2 separate regions of the Homo sapiens genome follow, and region 2 is linked to region 1. Evidence: promoter capture Hi-C in 16 types of primary human blood cells and fetal thymus (Javierre and others, 2016). All regions are on one chromosome and are shown on one strand. The core of a region is centred on a gene start or on the middle of the fragment in contact, and the rest is flanking DNA. Distances in the headings are between cores, read along the strand shown.

Region 1 (2,943 bases), core at 28-2,527:
ATAGGGACTAGGATCTAGGTATGGTTTCCATCTCACTGGGGCAGCAGGCAGATGCTGAGCGCAGAGGACATGGGTGGTGGCTACACAGCTGCAGAGCAGCCATGACATGCTCTTGGAAACAAAAATAATTGAACACTGAAGTATGTGTAAAAGTACTTTTCCCCTTTGAATCAAGAATATGATCATGAACCTTAGCAAAACAAAGCAATGGAGCTGACTCAGTCTTCTAAACATTGGCCCTGAACCTGAACCTACTATTAAATTGGGCTAAAAGGTTTACAGAGCAAGTGGATTCATTAAAACTGTTTTTTGCTATATTCTCTGTTGTGGCTTTGTCCCAGAGATTTCCAATGCTTCCAGCAGCTTTGGAGTTAGTAACTCTGATATGTTTGCATCTGACTTCTGACCTAAACTTTAGTGTTATTTTCAGCTGTTCTTTGACAGGGAATCCAACAGCTGCTGTTTAATACCACAGACAACTTGTGACACAGGCTGAGTTTCTAGCAATAGGATTAATCTACCAATGTGGGGCACTGATTTGAAGCTGGCTATAATTTTCCTGAACAGGAGGTGGGGGTAGGGAATAAAAAGCCTGAAGCACAGTACTTTCCTTTTTGTTTTTGTTTTTAATTGCAGCAAAATATATGTCTTAATAACTTTTAACCACACAGAAAACATTTTCTTGCTGCAATTAAAAGGTAACAGCAAAGTATTTTGCTTTCTCATGGTATTAATAACTGAACTTGAAAACCTTGTCCAATGGAGCAGAATAGTCACAAAGAAAATCTGAAATGATAGGCACCTATTTATAAATGCTGGTTGAAATATTTTTTAAAAATTCCTAAGAAATCTGAGGCTCTGAGAAAATGTGGCTATTCCATCTAAACTTCATTTAGCAAAGAACAGTAAGTTTTAGAAAAGCAGATTAATCTAAAAATGTGTTTTAAGCAATTTGTGACTTAACCCCAAGACAAATACCAAAACTTTTTTAAAGTACACTTTGGTAGTTCTCTTTGCATCAGAGAGATTTCAAAAATCTTGAAAAGATTGATAACCAGGTCAAAGACTTACTTGTTTCAAAGTCCATGGTTACAATGGCATAGTTTCGGTGGCAAAACTAATTTGGGTTGTCAGGATGTAATTTTTTTTTCCATTTGTTATCAAACATCAGCTGATAAGGAAAGAGCTTGAAGCTGTCCTCCACATTTAAGATAACAGCAAAAATAACAGGCACTTAGTGTCACCATACTAGGGGCGTGGCAATTCTCTCTCGTTCGCTCCTTTCTCTCTCACGATAAACTCAATGGGGTTGTCTATTTTTAACCTCCTGTTCTTTCCTTTTGGCAGAGTAATCAGTGTGAGCTGAGCTCTTTCCCTGAATGAATCCAAGTAACCCTGGCCTTCTGAAATGACCAGCAGACACACAACTGTCCAGAGGCTGCCCAAAGTATAAACTCTGGTTCTAAAGTACCATGTCCAGCCAAGGAAGTCCTAGTGTTGCGCTTTCTACGACGACAGTCAGTTCAGTTGCTGTGCAGGCTGGGGACTCCAAAATCGTTATAGCTGTCATAAAGGTAAGCTAACAACTTCCTTTTTTCTGTGCGGCTGTGGGCTTCTAGCTGTGTGTTGAAAACCCTAAAGAACATTCCATGCAATCGGCAGGACACAGCATAGAGAAGACAACGCAGCAAGCACTCTTACTGCTTTCTAAAATGGGCTACTAAGAGAAACCTCTACAAGTTTCAGCAGTTACCAGAGATTCTCTTTCCTTTCAGTCAGCCAGAAAGCATCTATAGCAGCTTGATTTAAAAAAAAAAAAAAAAAGAAAAGAAAGAAAAATAAAGAAAAGAAAACCTCTAGCATATACTGTCAATTTGGTCTTTAAAAGCAAGGCATTGGTAACTGGAAGTTCATGATTGCCTGACTAAAGAGTCCAATGGACCTGTGGAATGCTTGTGATTTTTGAGAGTGGATGTGATGGAGGTGGGAGGAGGCAGGTCCCGACAGACAGGGGGAGGGCACTGCTTTAAGCACGATGGAACTCAGAAAACACCAAGTAAAGGGCTCCGACATGTGCCCTTTGCCACACTGGTTTTGACATGGTAAAGAAACTACTAAATCCTTGTCCAGTAACGAAGACCATGCAAGGAAAGGTACAAAAGCTTTGTGTCAAATTTGCTCTTAACAGCAGGAAGTAGAAGCCACTTAGGGTTTACAATTACTGCATGTTTTATGACAACCCATTTGCCCATTTGCAAAGATGACCACACATCTTTAGGCTGAAGAAGAACTCCATGATTTTATTCTCCATGGAAATGCCCTGTAAAAAAAAGCTTTCAAGCACTAGGCTTGGGCTTTAGATGATATTCCACCTAAATAATTCAGTGTTTAATGAAGGGAAAGCTGGCAAACAAGCTGATGGTCACAAACCAGTTACTTTCAGGTCCCCACCAGGTTTAATTGAATGACTTTTCTGGCCTTTTGTTAGAGCATGGACAGCAAGCCATGTTTACTTTAACTTAATTGCTGTGAATTTTATGGTAATGTGAAAATTCATACCAGGAAAAGAGCACTTGATACTGAGCAAAACAGTTCACTATAGAAGGACAGAATGGAAAGTATTCCTGCCGAGGTGGATTTTCTGGTGTTGTGAGACTTCTCTCCCACAGGAACCAGGCCTCTGCTGACTTCCTCACCCTCCCATCTTTTCAGAGTCCCAGAGAGGAGATGAAAAGAAGCCTGATGCAGAAGTAGGGCAAACAGATCATTTGCACGGGATTAATGATACTTTGAGTTAACTGCAGATTTCAGCAATGAGGGAAAAGAGGCAAACTCACTATTTTTCAAAAAGTTAACTTTCCATTTCCTCAAATATGAACATTCTTGGAGCAGGATGAGGAATAATATTAGAGGATAAATTACAGAAGAATCAGAGGTAGATTG
Region 2 (2,980 bases), core at 370-2,869, 68 kb before region 1:
ATTTATCCTAAAATCCTTCATCTTTCTCATCCCTTATAGCTTAATCAAATGTCCAGGTTCTGCTGTCTCTGAATCTCAAACATTTATGGTCAAGATCTTAAACTCTTATCTGCCTCTGGCCTGGCTACTCTCCAGCTTTTTGTATATAAGTGTAATTTTCATAAAGTACAACAATTGTGTAAAACTTCCTTCAGTGACTTCCTGTTTGCTCAGATGGAGTTTGTCTTCTTGGAATAATGTAGGAGACCCTTCATAATCCAATTCTTGCATAATTTTATCTTCTATAACATTCCCATAAAATCACACAGTTGTTTTTATCTCCCTGAAAGCATCATGCTGTTTCATGCATCCATGACTAAGAATACTTGTTTCCTTGTTTTCTGCTCAGTGAATTCCTACTTACTCTTCAAGACTCAGGGATACTTACTTTACTTTAGGAAGCCTTTTTGGACTTCTAAGGCAAGTTAGTCACTTGCTCCTCCCTACTCTCATAAAACATTTTAAATAGCTTTATAATAGTACTTATAACATCTCTGCAAATGGGAGCATCTTGATAGTAGAGACCATATCTTATATTTTCCCCAGCACACATTATCTAATACCTGAATACAGTATATGTATGATACCATCTTCATCAAAGTGGCCTACATTGTTTTTTAGTTTCATATTTAAAAAATAATTATCACTTCCCTTCAGTCCATTGTAGAATTACTTTAACCAAGTTGAATTTTAATGTCATGTTATAGCTTTTATTCAGAGCATCTTTATTTTTTTTTAAAAAAAAGCCTTGTGATACCTACTTCTATATTGTTATTAAGCTTTCTTTAAGGACATCAAGTATAGTAGAGCACAGTGTCTGGTAACATATTATCGGTATTTGAGACTGCAGTGGGAGTCCCCCATCCCACCTGCAGTACGCAGAATTTCATGGAAATGAAGGAAATGGACCAGAGTTAAGTTAGGTTAAGTTGCCTTAAAAATTTAAATGGTTATATTATCCAAAAAGACCACAATGAGATTAAAAAAATAATTTGAATTGTGTTTCTCTACACCCAGAGGTCAGTAGAGTTTTTTTGTTTTTTTAAGCCCTCCATCTAGTTTTTAAGAATGTAGATGGAGGGTTTTAAAAAAAATCAGAATTAAATATTATTTTAGGTACTATAATATAATGAAAAGCGTTAATGTTTAAATGTTTCTTTAGCTGGGCATAGTGATGCACACCTGTAGTCTTAGCTACTTGGGAGGCTGGGATGTGAAGATCATTTAAGCCCAGGAGTTTGAGGTTATAGTGAGCTATGATGGTACCACTGCACTCCAGCCTAGGTGCTTGAGTGAGACCTTGTCTCAAAAAAATATCATCCTGTATTTGAGAAACATTACACTTTTATCCTTGAAACTTGTTTGATGCTAAACAGCAATGGAGATTTTTTTTGGGTTTTAGTGTACTATTGTCCTTACATTTTGCTTTAATATTTTGCAGAATCCATGCTATCTTTAAGAGGGTTTGTCATTGAGTATCATTTGGGTATTTTGATGTTTTGATGTAACATTGATATAAATATCCCTAAAATTCTTACAAATCAATACAAAATACTTGCATTCTCCATTGTTTAGGACTAAGTATTTTAGTGTACTATAAAATACATGTACCAAATGATGATGTTACAATAGTAATCAATAAAACAGAAATGATGAGTTAAATTTATGTTTGGGTTCATTAGATGTGAAGACATGGTAGATGTGCGAAGGTTAAAGATGCTTCAGATGGTGCAGTTGTTTAAATGTGAAGAAGATGCTGCCCAGGTAAGGAGCAGTCAGCTACATTATGTAGTTAACTTTTCTTAGAAGATTGATTTTATCTAACTACAAACAAAAGTGTACTTTTCATGGTCCTAAAAAAGTAAATTCTTGAAGTCAGGTTCTAGTTTATCTATCTTGTTGAAGAATACACTTTGGTATTCCCAGCTAGTTGATTGATCTCATTTAACTTAATTTTCTCAATGAAATCCTCTATAATCCTCTATTGAGCTAGAGATTGGGATCGTTTATTATTTATTATTGTTGATTAGGTTGTCAGTTACATCCAGGATAAAATCTGGTGGAGCACACTGCATTTTGCTCTCTTGCATCTGCAAGAGAAATTTCAATACCAGATAAACAATTTGATATATTTTGTCGTTATCATCAGAGAACATCATTTCAGTTAGATATAGATAAAATTTTTGATTTTATGTAGTAACACAAATCTGTAATGCAATCCTGATGGATCTACATACAGAAATACATGATCTTTTATTATGTGATATTAATTTTAAAAGAATGCTTTTCTTCAGTATGTCTTGCCTTCAGATTTAAAGAATTTTGAGGAGTAGGACAGGTCATTAATTCATGTAGCTTATCATTGAATGAAATAAGCTTTTAAGACTTTAGGTTATAATTAACGGATTTATTAATCACATGATAGTAATCTCTGTATAAATGACATTTTGATACAATAAGTAAAGAGTTCTGAATCCAGCTTCATTGTTATGTCTTTTTGTTTAGGCAGTAGAATGGCTAAGTGAACTTCTGGATGCTCTGCTTAAGACTCACATCAGATTGGGCGATGATGCTCAAGAAACGAAAGTTTTGCTGGAAAAGCATAGAAAATTTGTTGATGTTGCACAGGTGCAAAACTGGTTATCTTCCTTTTCCACAAGCTCAGTGTTTGAATAGCTTTCTGCATGATTATAATGTAACTTTACCTTCCAAGTACAAGAAGGTTAGTTTTGTTATTCCAGAAGTGTCACAGAATTAAGAAAATGTCAGCTGGTGCATCAAAACTAGCCTGCATAAACTTGAGAGGGTTTACGTTTCCCTGAATACATGTTCTGCATGGTCCCTCTGATTTATGCTATGTATTACGGCATTTTTAAGGCAATCCAACTGTTCATCCACAGAAGTTAATATGAAATGGATGTTAATATCAGTAAATAAGAAA

What was found. The method cuts DNA at HindIII sites, captures the fragments that hold promoters and counts their contacts. A CHiCAGO score of 5 or more calls a contact.
Region 2: a fragment that was not itself captured here is called in contact with the fragment with the promoter of CCDC141 in region 1 in 2 of 17 cell types (total B cells and non-activated CD4 T cells); the score reaches 5.6 in total B cells.

The regions. Positions count from the first base shown.
Region 1 is chr2:179,048,471-179,051,413 of GRCh38, reverse strand. It overlaps CCDC141 (coiled-coil domain containing 141), which reads left to right and starts at 1,277. Exons shown (of 24, transcript NM_173648.4): 1 at 1,277-1,574. The coding sequence starts at 1,473. RefSeq lists enhancers at 1,201-1,280, 1,291-1,540, 1,731-1,780. The HindIII fragment of the contact is 6,980 bases long and covers 1-2,164 here.
Region 2 is chr2:179,116,355-179,119,334 of GRCh38, reverse strand. SESTD1 (SEC14 and spectrin domain containing 1) reads left to right here. Exons shown (of 18, transcript NM_178123.5): 14 at 1,722-1,803; 15 at 2,545-2,667. Among named protein-coding and RNA genes, the nearest start is that of CCDC141, 68 kb to the right of the region's middle. RefSeq lists an enhancer at 483-652. The HindIII fragment of the contact is 1,597 bases long and covers 821-2,417 here.